Linked DNA regions of Homo sapiens: region 2 is linked to region 1. The links are contacts of gene promoters, found by promoter capture Hi-C in blood cells and fetal thymus (Javierre and others, 2016). All regions are on one chromosome and are shown on one strand. The core of a region is centred on a gene start or on the middle of the fragment in contact, and the rest is flanking DNA. Distances in the headings are between cores, read along the strand shown. Region 1 holds the start of CDH20 (cadherin 20). Region 2 has its middle 89 kb from the start of PMAIP1.

What was found. The method cuts DNA at HindIII sites, captures the fragments that hold promoters and counts their contacts. A CHiCAGO score of 5 or more calls a contact.
Region 2: a fragment that was not itself captured here is called in contact with the fragment with the promoter of CDH20 in region 1 in 1 of 17 cell types (M2 macrophages); the score reaches 5.2 in M2 macrophages.

Annotation. Positions count from the first base shown.
Region 1 is chr18:61,328,561-61,336,025 of GRCh38, reverse strand. CDH20 (cadherin 20) reads right to left here and starts at 2,596. Exons shown (of 12, transcript NM_031891.4): 1 at 2,199-2,596. The HindIII fragment of the contact is 13,774 bases long and covers 1-7,465 here.
Region 2 is chr18:59,985,020-59,992,484 of GRCh38, reverse strand. No RefSeq gene overlaps it. Among named protein-coding and RNA genes, the nearest start is that of PMAIP1, 89 kb to the right of the region's middle. The HindIII fragment of the contact is 875 bases long and covers 2,568-3,442 here.

The DNA of each region.
Region 1 (7,465 bases), core at 1,347-3,846:
AGAACTGGGTCATAAAATTTTACAGGGCAGAAAGGTAGAAGGGGGCGTTTCAGTAGTATAAACACTGATTAAATTTCCCGGCAACTCTCCCCAAACGAAAGATAATTTTTCTACAAGTATGCACAAGAATGTCAAGAATGCTAAGTCATTTTTATGTTTGTACTTTCCTTTTCCATTTTAATTTTATACTGCCACATGGCACACATGCTAAAAATGTATCTCCTTAACCTGCAGTGTAGCAAACTTTTCACAAAACATTAAAATGGCATATTTTATAGACTGTCCTTTCCCAGGATGCTCAAAGTATTTTTTTGGATACAAAATTAGATCATCTCACGACAACTGTCCTGTTAGAAAGGCACAGTTACTTGAGTATCTGCAGAGAGCGAAAATCAGAAGCACTGAAAAGAAAGGTCACGCCAAAGTCAATGGCCAGAGCCTCAGTAGATGCTGAGAGCTTGGTTCACAGCCTAAGTAGACTCTAAGAGCTCGGTTCCAATTTATAACACTTCCCTCCTGCTCTTCATTTGTCTCTTTTTTCTCTGGCAGGAAGGGATGTGGCCAGCGTGGAGGCTTGACCTCATCTCCTGCACTCAGCTTAACTCTGCCATACTGTTCTCCCACACCCTCGCCCAGCTTTCTGCTGCATCAGCTGCCCAAGCCTGCACCCTGGGCAACATCTGAACAGGGTCAAGCCAAGAGTTGGCAACCACAGGTGCCCTTACGGATTCCTCCAGTGTCAGGACCTGAATCCTTTCAGCATGTCCAACGAGACTGCAAGGGTGACACTAAAGGGAAAAGATTTTCCCAGGTTATATAAATAAATGAAAGGGAAACGCTGGGTCAACTCTCAAGATGGCTATGCCTTCAGGGTTCCCCAGCCAGAGGCGGCTGAGGAAGGTGAGCAGATAGGAACATAATACTCATCTATAAGCGTGGGTTCAAACTCATCCTAGTTTCAACTTTTTGTTGTTCTTAGGTAGATCCAATTCCTTAGCTGAGTCCCTGACAGCACCACAGCTCTGAGTGGGTAATTTCCTTTGGTGGAAAGACACACATCAGAGACTGGAGGAGGTCCGGGGACATTTCATTTGAGGGGAGGCGGCTGCAGGTTCAATTTGCAGGCGATTTATAACAATCAGAAAAAAAATTGTTCCTGGTGCTCGTGCCAATAACAAGAGCATTAATAATAATAGCAACAACATAGTAAACTCTGAATCTACCAGGCGACCAACTCCCCGATTGTCTGGTACTATCCCCTCTCACTTCCAGCCTGGTCTCGGCAGAAACAAACAAAACAAAACAAGGCTCTGACGCTGCCTCCGGGCTGCCTTCCAGATTTCAGCCCCCACTGCTGCCCCAGAGGCGGATAGCTAGGCAAAGGCTGCTGCAGTCTCTCCGATTGCTAAGGACACGTTGAGAGTCCTCGGTAACGTTCTCTTTGCAAATCTGAAACTTTAGCCCCATTTGACCCCCTTGCCCCCGGCTCTTCCCCCAGAGTAACTACAACAAGCAAAAACCAAACAGCGAGCGCAATTCAGAGCTTTCCTTGGGAGTGTCAGGGCCCGAGGACAGGAAATCCGGGGAGTTGGCGAAGTCCGGCAGGTGGCGGGGACTCGAGTACCCACCACATTCTCCTCCCACAGCCGAGCTCCGGCGGGGGCGCGGCGCGAGGCACGGACCAGGGATCGGCCCCGTAGGTGCCTGCGCCTCCCCGGAGCCTGGCTCTCTGGTCCCCTTCCCGGCGCACATCTCTGTGCGAGGGACGCGGCCACCCTGTCCCCTCTGCAGGCGGAGGGAGGCGCCACCGCCTGCGGGGCCAGCGAGGGTGAAGCCGTGCCAAGCGCCCCCACAAGCCGCGCTCCTGGATCCCCAGTCACCATCCCCAGGCGCGCGCAGTCCCCGCTCCCAGCGCGCCACGTCCTCCACCTGCCCCGGTGCGCCCCAGCTTCCCTGCTTCCAGAGAGCAGCTCCCCCAGTCCCGGCAGCCCATTTCCAACCCCTTCTCCCACTAAGTCCGAGGAAGTCGAACTCGGAGCGGCCGGTAGGCTCGTCGAGGTGGCAGGGAGTTGCTGGGAGAGCACAGCGCGGAGAGGGACCGCGCACGCCGCCCGGGGATTTCGCCCCAGAGGGCTGGCTCCGCGCGCCCGGAGTCCCAAGCCCCAGAAGCGGGGCCCGACCCGAGCCCTCTGCGTTACCTGGCACCGCCGGCGACTCTCCGGAGACCTTCGGTCCTAACTGCTCCAGGGCGGGCGTTCTGCTCACGTAGCTGCCTCCCCCACTGGGCGGCTGGTGCCCCGCTGGGTCTCTTCACCCCTGCTCGCGGCGCTGTCCCCGCCCCCCACCCCCCTACCCCCTCTGTCAGAAGTGTCACAGCTTTTCTGCCTTCGGATGTTTCGCAAAGTCTCCGTGCGGTTGCCAGGAGTTGGGGGGTACTGCCAAGTGCACCAACCCCGCCGATGCCCTGCCCTGCCCTCCCGCGGCCACCGCGTTCGGCCTGTCCAGTGAGAAGAGCCCCCTGGTCGCGGTCACCGTCCCCCGAGCGTGGCGCGCGGTCCGCTTCCCCTCCCTCGCGCCTTCCCTAGCAGGAGTGGCTGCTGCCTGCCTGTACCGCGGGTCCTCATTCCCCTGCTCATGAATATTCTGACAGAGGCTAATGCCGCTGAAGTAAATTGAATTAGCCAATTGGTGCCAGGAATGTGCGCTCCTTCCTTCTGAGGAGCTGTCTGGAACCCCACCAGATGAAAGCAATTAACGTCCGGTTGGCACCCTGTGGTTTAGACCAGTGAGGGGCAAAATGGGTTAATTCTTTAAATGCAGTTTAGATACCGCATTTAAATGTTTCAACTCCTCTATTGGCTGAGAGCGTAAGGAAATGTTAAGAGGGAGAGAGAAGAAAGGGGATGTGTGGACGTGGGGAGGGGGGCGGGGGTATTTACATCTAAACTTTCCCCTGAAGTTGAGGTAATTATTTTGCACAGATTCTGGAAGAGGCAATTGAGGAGTAGAACAGGATAAGGCAAATAAAATCAGAAAGGAAATGAGTACCAACTCGGGTTTAACCTTGACCTTGAGGGTGCAAAAGACATTGTTTTCAAGAGGAGAGGTAGGGGAAGATGGCATGTGTGAGGGAAACCTCACTCATCGACTTTTAAGAATTTCTTCAAATGCTCAGATTTCCTTTTCTTTTTGTCCTCATAGGAAAATCTTAGAGTTTTAAGCCTTTAACTAGAGATGGGGTGGAGGTATATTAAGGGTCAGAAATTTCTGAGGTGGAAGCTGAGACCACCCTTCTCTCCCAGATGAAGGGGGTCCCCCAAATCACACAATACTGTGACAGGCCCATTCCAGAAGGCAATTCCAGCTCTTATTTCTGAGGTCAGAATACACAAGGTCAAAAGGAGAGATCACCTCTCTCCTGTCCTGATTCCTACCCTAGAATGTCAAGTTACTGACGACAACTTGGGTTTCACAGTGGCTGGAGGGGGACTTTTTGCCCGATGTGGTTTCTACATTTCTCTTCAAGCAAGGTGCTTGGAGGATTTCCTCCCCCATCACTGATTGTAATAGAGCAAGTTATTTTGATTGAATTGATAGGTTACTAAATAATCTATTTGTACAACTGCTCTGTGGCCAAATGATCAATGTGTGTAAAGAACTGATAAAATGATATATATAAACATCCAATAAGATTCCCAAGTGTGTGACAATAGAAATAGTATCCCAGTTAAGGCAGTCATGCCATATTTTAATAGCTTTCAGCAGGCCTAGAATTAGAACTCATAGTTATAACAATGATTATTAATAGCAGAATAGCTAATGTTTATGGAGAACTTGTTATGTGACAGACATGTGTTACACATGTTATTTCATTTCATTTTTCCAACAACTCTATTCAGTCTAGACTATTATTTCTCTATTTTAATAGATGATGCAGATGTGGCTCAATAAAGTAAGGGCAGTTGACCCTTGAACAACATGGGGGTTAGGAGCACTGACCCTCGTGTAGTCAAAAATCCGCATATAACTTTTCACTCCAAAAACTTAACTACTAATAGCCTACTGTTGTCTGGAAACTTTATGGATAACATAAGCAGTCGACTAACACATATTTTATATGCTATACATTTTATATGCTGTATTCTTAACAATAGTCTGGAGGAAAGAAAATGATACTAAGGAAATAATAAGGAAAATGAAATGTATTTACTATTCATTAAGTGGAAGTGGATCATCATAAAGGTCTTCATCCTTGTTGGCTTCATGTTGAGCAGGTGAAGGAGAAGGAGGAAGAGGGAGGCTTGGTCTTGCCCTGTCAGGGATGACAGATGGGAGAAAATCCATGTCTAAGTGGACTCATAGAGTTCAAACTTTTGTTGTTCAAGGATCAACTGTAGTGTGTCCAGGTCATATAGCTCATAAGTGGGGAGATCAACTTTGACCCAAAGGACTCTGATTAGTGGTCCAGGGCCTTCCGGTCTCTAGCAGCTTAAACTGTCTTCTTGTCTAAAAAGAAAATCAGTTTCTTGGTGTTTTGTTGAAGTGACTTGTTTTTGGTGATCAATTTCTTACACAAAATTTAGAGAAAATCATGAGTCTTTTTTTTTTTTTTTGGATAGTGTGATGGTTAATTTTATGGGTCAACTTAACTGAGCCATAAGGTACTCAGATATCTGGTGGAACATTATCGTGGAAGTTTTTGTGAGAGTGTTTTTTGGATAAGATTAGCATCTAAATTGGCAGACTGGATGAGGGAGAGAGATTGCCTTCCGTAATGTGGGTGGGCCTCATCCAATCAGTTGAAGGCCTGAATAGACCAAAAGGTTGATCTACCCTCAGATAAGGGCTGGCTTTTCTCATGTTTTTATAGGTTCTTATGAGAAGTCTTTGGGATGAAAGATGTCTTCTTTTACCTTCTACAAACGTGTGTTTGAAAACTTTTTTTTACCAAAATTATATTCCATTTACTGAAAGGAAACAGCACATTATAAAGTGCTGTTTCTCTGCACAGAGCTTGTGTCTAGTTTTTAGGACTAGATATTTGCATATTTTTATAGGTCTTATGAAAAGCCTTTGGGATGAGAAATGTCTTATCTTCTACGATGGTAAAATTTTCTGGCCTGATGGGAAGAATTTTCTGGCCTGATGGCCTTCAAACTCAGACATCATCTCTGCAGATTATGGATTTGCCAGCCTCCCTAATTGCATGAGTCAATTCCTTATACTATATCTACCCATCTACCTACCTACCTGCCTACCTACCTACCTTTAGTTGGTTCTGTTTCTTTGGAGAACTTCAACTAATACAAATTGATATATTCAGTAAACACAACTATTTGTGAATCTCCCATGGATATCAAATGTCTCCATCTCCCAATACATTGGTACGCAGTGTGCAGTTTTTTTACTTAAGATTTTCCAGGCCTATTATTAATAAGGTAAGAGCAATTTTATTTTTCCTGTTTTTTTAAACATGGGTGAGACTACCAGATTTAAATAACATTTTATCTTTCAAGTACTGAAAATGGACTATAATATATTAGATTAAAGCAAAATTTATAGATATTATATAAAGGGAGAAATTTGAGTATTATAATTTTAGGGATAAGAATGATCAGGTTAAATCTTTGAATTCAACAGTTGTTGAGTACCCACTAAATGCAAGGCACATGTCTATTCAAATGTTTTCTGTTCAAATCCACAGTTAAATCCCTTTTAAACGTTGAGGATCTGCCATATTTTATTCTCTGAAACTTTGGGTAGTTTAAAACTTTTTATGTTAAAAAAGTGTATGACTGTTTTATTCTCATATTAAATACTGATGATTTTCCCAATCATGATTCCTCCCTTACAATGCTCTGTTAGTTCTTCCTTTTACAGAGAGAATCCACTTAGGATTTAGAAGCAGCATTTCACAGAAATGTCTTTAGATGTTAGAATATGTATTTATATGAATATGTTAACATGATTTTAGAGCTCATAAAATGTTATCAGGATGAGTGCTTTCTATATTTCCTCAAGAGTCTCAGTGGGCAGAGTCAGGGGAAGACCACTGGAGTCTGAGCGGGGACACTGGCTCCTTGTTGCAGGTGTGGGCCCTCTTGGATAAGCCATTCTCCTTTGGAGTGAACCAAGTTAGTGAGTGTGCAAAGTGGAAAGAATAATACACTCTTTATTGAGTGCTTTGCTACTTGCAAATTGCTCTCCCATATGCTTTCTCATTCCATCCTTCTGACAACCCTATGAATTCAGTATTATTATCTATATTTAATTGATGAGGAATCTCAAGCTCACAGAGATTCGGTAGCATTCAGAGCTTCTCCTAGGAAGGGATAGAACAGGGACTTTAATCCAGGAACAAAGTCACCTTCTCAGTGAAACTGTGTTTGACATCTCCCTCTGCCTTCCCTCCCTCAGCCCTGCCATGCACACACACACTTCTTTTTCCAGTGGAAATAACAATTCCCTCCTTCGTGCTCCCTTAGGACATCCAAGATGTGTAAATAAATTGTTACAACGCAATGTGTTGTTTCTACCAGTAATCAAAAGCAAACTGAAGTCAGTAACTTTGTCTTAATAATTTTTGTGTCCCCAAATTTAGCTGAATGGGAAGCACTCAGCACCAACACCAGTCCTAGCACACTTCTGAAAATGTGTTCCATTGACTCTACTGGGCTATCAGGAATAAATGAAATAGTTGGTAGGTGTCTGGAAATTTAAAAACACCATATAACGATATTATTGTTATTCAAAAGTAGATTCCGAAACAAATATAATAATTTCAGCCTTGACCTCTGGCTGATAAATTCTATGGGTGAGAAAAGCATTTGATAACTTTTATGTCAGCTTCTGTTTTGGGGACATGGATGGATAACACTTGCTCAAATTATAATCATCTGGTTAATAGTAGCACTAAACTGGCCCATTAGGCAAGAAGGTATTCGTCTGGGAGAGGTGAGTCAGTGTGTGTGTGTGTGTGTGTGTGTGTGTGTGTATGTGTGTGTGCATGTGTGTGTGTGTGCAGTCTTTCTGCATTTTAAGAGTATTTTTTCGTGAATAAGCAGTCTCAGCCACTAGTACAGCTGTATTTCTCTAAAGAAGGGCCCTGCTTTTCTCATATAGGATGATCTTTATGAAGCGCTCCCAAGGTTACAGAGTTAATGACAGAGCTGAGGCTCCTGACCCCTCGTTCAAGGCTATTTTCACTACCCCACACTGGCCTTGATTGGCAGCCATTGCCCATACAGTGTGGTTTATGGTTTTAAGATTGAGATGAGAGATAAGCAGTTCAATATCTCATTATAATTAGTCTCCTGAGTCAGCTAATACCCTTCTAATGCAATTTGGCAATCTAGATTATTCAGTATTATCCATTCAAGATATTTTTGGATGTGTAATGATAATTATTTAGTAGAACTGATGACAATGACACACCAAAAACACTTTTATGCCTTCATAGCCTGTC
Region 2 (7,465 bases), core at 1,756-4,255, 1.3 Mb after region 1:
TATTAATTTGATCACAGAAGCATCAGATATTAAGGTATCCTTATTTTCTCCACCTTGAAGAAAAGTAAAACATTATTATTTGCTGGCATGGTTTCCTGTCTGTTGGCACTAATTTAATCCCTTGTTATCATGGAAACTTTACTTAAGAGCTTGGAAGTGTGGGGGGAAAAAAAGATTGCGCTCTTGCAATTAAGCTTTCAAATCGATACAAAAAGGAAATAGGTTCCAAACTTGTGTTAGCGATAGGTAGAATGCCAATTCCTTCATTTACAATAGAGAGGAATATGCCTTTTCAGTGGGTAATCTGATTGGATGAATTAATATATGTAAAGAGGGATCTTAAAACATCACATTAGGGCAGGTTTGCTGGCTCACACCTGTAATCCCAACATTTTGGGGGCCAAGGTGGGAGAATCACTTGAAGCCAGGCATTTGAGACTCACCTGGGCAATATAATGAGACCCCATATCTACAAAAAAAATCTTAAAAAATAAAAATTACCCAGGCATAGTGGCACATGCCTGTTGTCCCAGCTACTGGGGGAGCTGAGGCAGGAGGATCTCTAGAGCCCAGGAGTTTGAAGCTGCAGTGAGCTATGATCATGCCACTGCACTCCAGCCTGGGCAAAATAGTGAGAGGTCCTGTCTCTAAAATACAAAATAAAAATAAAAACATCACACATGCCCCACAAGTATATACAGCTACTAGATACCCATAATAATTAAAAATAAAAAATTTAAATATGTATATGTAAAGCAGAAATATCTCAGTTAAAAGCCATGGAAGTACTAATGAAAAAAGAGATACTGAAGCAAATATTGTCAGCGTGACCCCAAGGTACTCCCAGTAAAAGTCTTTTCCAATGGATTCTGCACAGTCTACTTCCACTGGCATCCTAGATTTACTGTGAAAAGATGAACCAAGCTAAGCCTGCCATTCATCATTTGATTCCTCTAAACCCCCATGGTTCACACCAGACATCACAGGGAAACGATTTTATTTCTCTTGGTGTATAAAGCTAAAGGTCTACTCCCAGGGAGAGAATGACCTGGTCAAGTGGACCTGCATGTCAGACCCCCAAGCTTTAGAGCAATGATGCTCAAACTTTAGCATTCCCTGGGAGATTCTGTTAAATCATAGATCCCTGGATTCTACCCCCAGAGAATCTGATTTAGTAGGTCTGCAATGAGGCCCCAGAATCTGCCATTTAACAGTTTCCCAGGTGATGATGATGATACTGGTCTAGTGACCATACATTGAGAAACAATCCTTTAGTTAAAAGGATATGTGGCAAAAAAATCTACAGATGATGGGATGCTGGGAAAGATTACATTCAGTCGTTTATATTTTATCTGTGAAGAAGGAGACATGGTAATCAGGAAAAAGGGATGGAATTGGAGAGAGAAAAGCTTGAGCAAAGTGTGAAAATTTTAAAATAACTACCACAAGGAATGATTAGCACTTGAGCAGTGCTAAAACCCCAACCAAGGTCAGCAAAGGTAATTATGGTGAAGCTTCACTGAATAGTGATGATATGCTAAGTTCTATTTTGGAATCTTGAATGTATTTATTGCTCCTAAAAGTCTCTGTATTAAGAACTTTTGTTATCCCCATTTTCCAGGGAAGAAAGCAGGCTCATAGGTCTAGTAAGTGGGAAAGCTAATATTTGAATCCACAAAGTTTAATTGCAGAGTTCATACTATCAGCAATCATGCTAGTCTGAGACTAAATCATTAAACTTCTTCACTTTGAAATGGAGAAGTTTAATGATTTAAAACTTGGGCTCTTATCCAAAACCCAAATGGCTTTTTTTTTTTTTTTGTGGTCAATGTTGAGACCACATTAAAACATTGTTTAGATGTTCTCACTCTCTGCTGATGATAGCATTGGAGTGAAAGGGAGAGATGTGAAAGATACAGCAGGACAAGACAAGCAGAGAAGGGTGGGCTGGTTTCTCTGTAAGAGCCTCCCAGCTTGGAGGGTTGGCCATAATGTAGCTGATCCTCAGCTTTTCAGATCAGCTACTAAACTCTCATGTCACCAATAGATTGGATGCCAACTCATTTATTTACAGTGAAGGGGGATGCACCTTTACAGTGGTAACCAGAATATTTATATTCCATCTCCAGAGCATATTCTTCCACCAATCAAAGTACCTGCGATCCAAATTAGTCATCAGAAAGCCATTTGTTGGACAGAGAGTCAGACTAGAGGAAGTAAATGGAGGTGCCAATATTTAACTAGGAGATGCTGGTATGATCAGGCAGGTGTTTTCAGCTAGCATCCATTCTGATATCTATATCCATGCTACAGTGGTTGATAATTTTTTTGTATTTAGGTTATCTAAATGATAAAATGCAAGAAACGATGAATTACAGCCACTCCATAGGAATATTCCATTTAGAAGCAAGCAGCAAAAAATAAAATAATGACTAGCACTATAAAGTAAAACATCTCATTAAGAAAGAGATCGTCAAATGTTTAGTGTAATTTGGAAGAAGATGTCTAAGAAATTTCCAAGTAATAGAAATTTTTTTAAGTTTATATATTTGGCTAAGAAAAAAGCTTCAGTTTTCTTGGAAATTTAATTATGTACCAAAGTGAATCCCCACATGATATAAATGAGAATATCTACTAAGAAACAACTAACTATAAGACCCCTGGTGTATTAGTCCATTTCTGCACTACTATAAAAAAACTACCTGAGACTGGGTAATTTATAAAAAGAAGGTTTAGTTGACTCACAGTCCCATATGGCTGGGGAGGCCTCAGGAAACTTACAGTGATGATGGAATGGGAGGCAAGGCACACCTTACATGGCAGCAGGAGAGAGAGAGTGTACACGAAGGGGGAAGCACCATCAACGCTTGTGAGAATTCACTCACTATCATGAGAACAGCAAGGGAGAAATCCAACCCCATTTTTCAATCATCTCTCCCACCAGGCCCCTCCTTTGACATGTGGGGATTATAATTCAAGATGAGATTTGGGTGGGCACACCGAGCCAAACCGTATCACCTGGTGATGGCTCCCCTGGCTTAGAATTTTAGATTACTAAATGAACAGGGCAATAACACAGGTACTTATCTAAACATAAGCAAAGACCAGCTACTTGTAAAGCAAATATTTTAACACACTTAAAAGAGTCAAATGGCCACATAAAAAGGCCAGAATAATTAATTATTTTGGTTATTTTAACTTTACCCAAAATAGAAATATGTATATTGTGTGTATAAAGCTAAGAACTAAGCTCACGCATAAAGCCACGCATTTTTAAAGATGTGCAAAATATCACTTTCCAAGGATATTCATACCTAACAGAAACACTGTTCCATTATGTAAAAAACAGGAACATGTTGCTAATCCAGCATTATTTACATTGATGGGCTAAAATGCTAACTTGAAATAATTACTGGATTGGTTCTGTTCAATTACCAAAGCTTGACATTCACCTAAAAACTCCCCATTCTGAGTTGTTGCTACAAAAAGAAACTATTAACCACCTACAAAGTAAGTCAGCACCTTATTTCATCTGCCTACAACACCTCCATTACACACAATACTCCCTGAGAATAGTATTAAAAGATGAATAGTGATAAAAGACAAAACCTTTTTTAAGAGCTAGTAAAATCAGCCTCACCAACACACAGATTACAGGCATTTTTTTGTTTTGTTTTTTGAGATGGGGTATTTTTCTGTGGCCCAAGCTAGATTGCAGTGGCACAACCATAGCTCACTGCAGGCTCCTATGTTCAAGCGATCCTCCCACCTCAGCTTCCCGAAGTGCTAGGATTACAGGCATGATCCACTGTGCCCAGCCTAACAGGCAATTTTTTACTACTATAATTCAAAAAGTATTTTAAACACTATAAATGTGTAATTTTTAGCACATAAAATAATTGCCTCTAAGCATACTTTTATTTATAGAATTTCTACAAGTGTAATTTTAAAAAAACCCTTAAAAATTCTCCCCAAAATAAATAGCACTTTTTCACAATATGACATTTTAAAATGTTAAACTTTGGACTATATGACAATTGGACAAAAAATGTAATCTAAGCCAATTTGATGTTCCTCAACTAAAATGAGTAAGATGTTATCAAACTTATGAAATTTATTCAGCAATTTTAAAGACGTTTAATTTAAATACAGGCTGATTAGTAACCTGGTGTCTGGCGCCATCTACTGCACAGCAGCAGTAACTTCTCCCTGTATGTTTCTTCAGCTAGACTGCAAATTACTTAATTTATGTAAGAAATATGTACCTGTGTGAAAACGACTGGAAATTAATTTGAAGATAGAAAAATAATTGCTGTGTTTAGAGTGTTGCTTTGTCTTTTTTTTAATGGCCTTATATTTTTTAAGAAAATATATTGACGAAAATTATTTACAGAACAAAAAATACAACTTGAGAAGCTTGGACAAAATGAGAAAGTGAAGAGCACCAAGGTTGGGAATGAATTTCTTACGATCCCTTACAAGGTGATGGGCATGGTAGATTACCACAAAGCTGAGGATGGTGACCTAAGTCATGTGACAGTTCAAAATTAAAGACCTGCTTTTTCTATTACTATTTATAATTAAAACTTGTTATCTAGCATAACATAAATCAAGACTTATAAATTAGCCCTATGAGAAATGGGTTGCTCACATGATCACCTAACGCTAATGGAGGAAAAGATATGAAGACATTCTCTGAATTGTCAAACAAAAATAAATGTATGATTCATATAGTTCAGTTTGATAGAAGTTTCCAAGATAACTGTGCTGGGGAGTATAAGGTTCCAGGGCTTTGTTTGTACCATATAGACTGCAACCTTGTGGGCTGCTAAACACTGAAAAATGTTGATGTGCAGATACCTTTCCTGGTAGCCATTCTTATACATTCTCCTTTCCTACATATTGTATAAGACCAGTTATCTTAGGCTGTTCCAGCTGCTCTAACAGAGTACCATAGCCTGGGTGTCTTACCAAAAAACAGAAATTTATTTCTCACAGTTCTAGAGGTTGGAAAGTCCATGATTAAGGCAGATTCGATGTCAGTTAAGATCCTGCTTCCTGGTCATAGCATCTTCTCACTGTGTCCTCACATGGCAGAAGGGCAAGGGAGCTCTCTAGAGTCCCTTTTATAAGGCCACCAATCCCATTTATGAGGGCTCCGCCACCATGACGTAATCATTACCCAATGGCCCCACCTCCAAATACTGTCACTCTGGTTTTGGTTTCAACCTATGAATTTGGAGGGAATATAAACATTCAGGCTATAGTACCAAGGAACCTTGAGTGTCAAGAAGGTAACTTAGATATGTTTGTAGGTAACTTTTCCTCCATAGTTCTTTTGGAAATTACAATTACGTATCCCTGTGTTGACTTGTTTGTTTCACACCTATCTCCAAGAGGACCAACATTAAGCTATTTCCATTTTGTTCTCTACTCTATCCATAGTACCCAGCACAATGCCTGATACATTCCCACATATACAGCATGGATACAGTAGGCACTCAATGAAAATTTTGACTAATTAATTAAAATACAGACCTGGGGCAAAAGTGGGGGTGGGAGGCAACTTGGAAAAGTAAAGAGAGGATGATAAAGGAAAAGAAGAAACAAAAACTCCAACATTCTATTTATTGACCCTCATGATAGGACCAGAAATTGCTCCAGGGATTATTTAATGGAACTGAGCAATATTTGCTTGGCCTATGAGCATCTCTATGTTTTAAATTCCTACCAATACCTGATAAGACACATGTGCACACACAACGCTCTTCTCAAGAGGACTCAGTACCAATGGCTGAAGGCTAAAATGCTATCACACCCGGTGTCAATCAGGGTTCCAGCAAAGAAGCAGAACTCATAAGAGTGGGATTCATTATAGTGATTTGACCCCACAGAACTGTGGGAGTTGACTAAGCAGTTTACGGGGCTTTTGTTTCTGTATCCAGGCCCTGGAGGGAATGGGTCTGTCATTAAAGAAGAAAAGATGGGCGTGAGTAGGAAAAAGCAAGGAGAAACCATGGCCTACAAGGACAAGGTGGAACATACGTGGCCAGGCCGAATCCCACCTCAGTCTCTCAGTGCCCCCAACTTCAGCGAGGAACGTGACCTGCTGGTACTCGTCCTCACAAAGGTAAACACACTCCCTGGGCACAGAAGCTGGAGCAGCTGTGAGGCCAGCTGCTGCCCATGTCCCCAGGGCGGCCAACAGAGGTGCAATCACACACGTGAGCAGAACAGGTCCCGGGCCCTGCACCCACCTTCTGAGCATAAAAGCAACATGCTGCTGCTTCTCTTCCGCCTTCCAAATCTCGTACATCAGTGTCTCTTCTGGACCACACTAACTATGCAGGAAACTCTGCAGGGAAGGGAATTCAGGGAACTATCATTCCAGCTTAGCTTCATTGACTCAATACAAATCTACTACATCAAATTTGATGATTCGGTTTTGTTTTACCTGCGGGCGAATCTACTCATTACTGCAAGGGAGTACCAGGAGTCTCACACAGGCAAGTGTAGCACACTCAAGACCTTTCCTTGGCCAGACGCGGTGGCTCATGCCTGTAATCCCAGCCCTTTGGGAGGGTGAGGCGGGCAGATCACAAGGTCGGGAGTTTGAGACAAGTCTGGCCAACATGATGAAACCCCATCTCTACTAAAAATACAAAAATTAGCCAGGCGTGGTGGCGGGCACCTGTAATCCCAGCTACTCGGGAGGCTGAGGCAGGAGAATTGCTCGAACCTGGGAGACGGAGGTTGCAGTGAGCCGAGACCATGCCATTGAACTCCAGCCTGGGTGACAGGGCGAGACTCTGTCTCAAAAAAAAAACAAAAACAAAAAACCTTGCCTCAAATGGAGACTGCTTGCTTAGACATGAGTCATCCTCTCTTAACCTAGAATCAAACTTTACAAAGTCAAACATAGGCAGATGCCGCAATCATATTTACAGGTAAAGCTAATGACTTCCACGTGAGGAGAAGCTTACTTATAGTAATTTCAGTGTAAAATTGCAAGAACTAAGATGTGATCATTTTTAAATCATCTTAATAGCTAACATGCCCATGATGACTTACGTGGTCACAATCACGCTAAATGCATTACATTGGCCAGGTGCAGTGACTCACACTTGTAATCTCAACACTTTGGGAGGCTGAGGTGGGCAGATCATTTGAGCCCAGGAATTTGAGACCAGCCTGGACAACATGGCAAAAGCCCATCTCTACAAAAAATACAAAAATTAGCCAAGCATGGTGGCAGTTGCCTGTAGTCCCAGCTACTCAGGAGACTAAGATGAGAGGATCGCCTGAGTCTGGGAATTTGAGGCTGCAGTGAGCTGTGATCATGCCACTGCACCCCAGCCTAGGCAAAAGAGCAAGACCCTGTCTCAAAATAATAATAATAATAAATGCCCTACATGGATTATCTCATTCAGTACTCACAACAATCTTATAATACAGTACCATTATT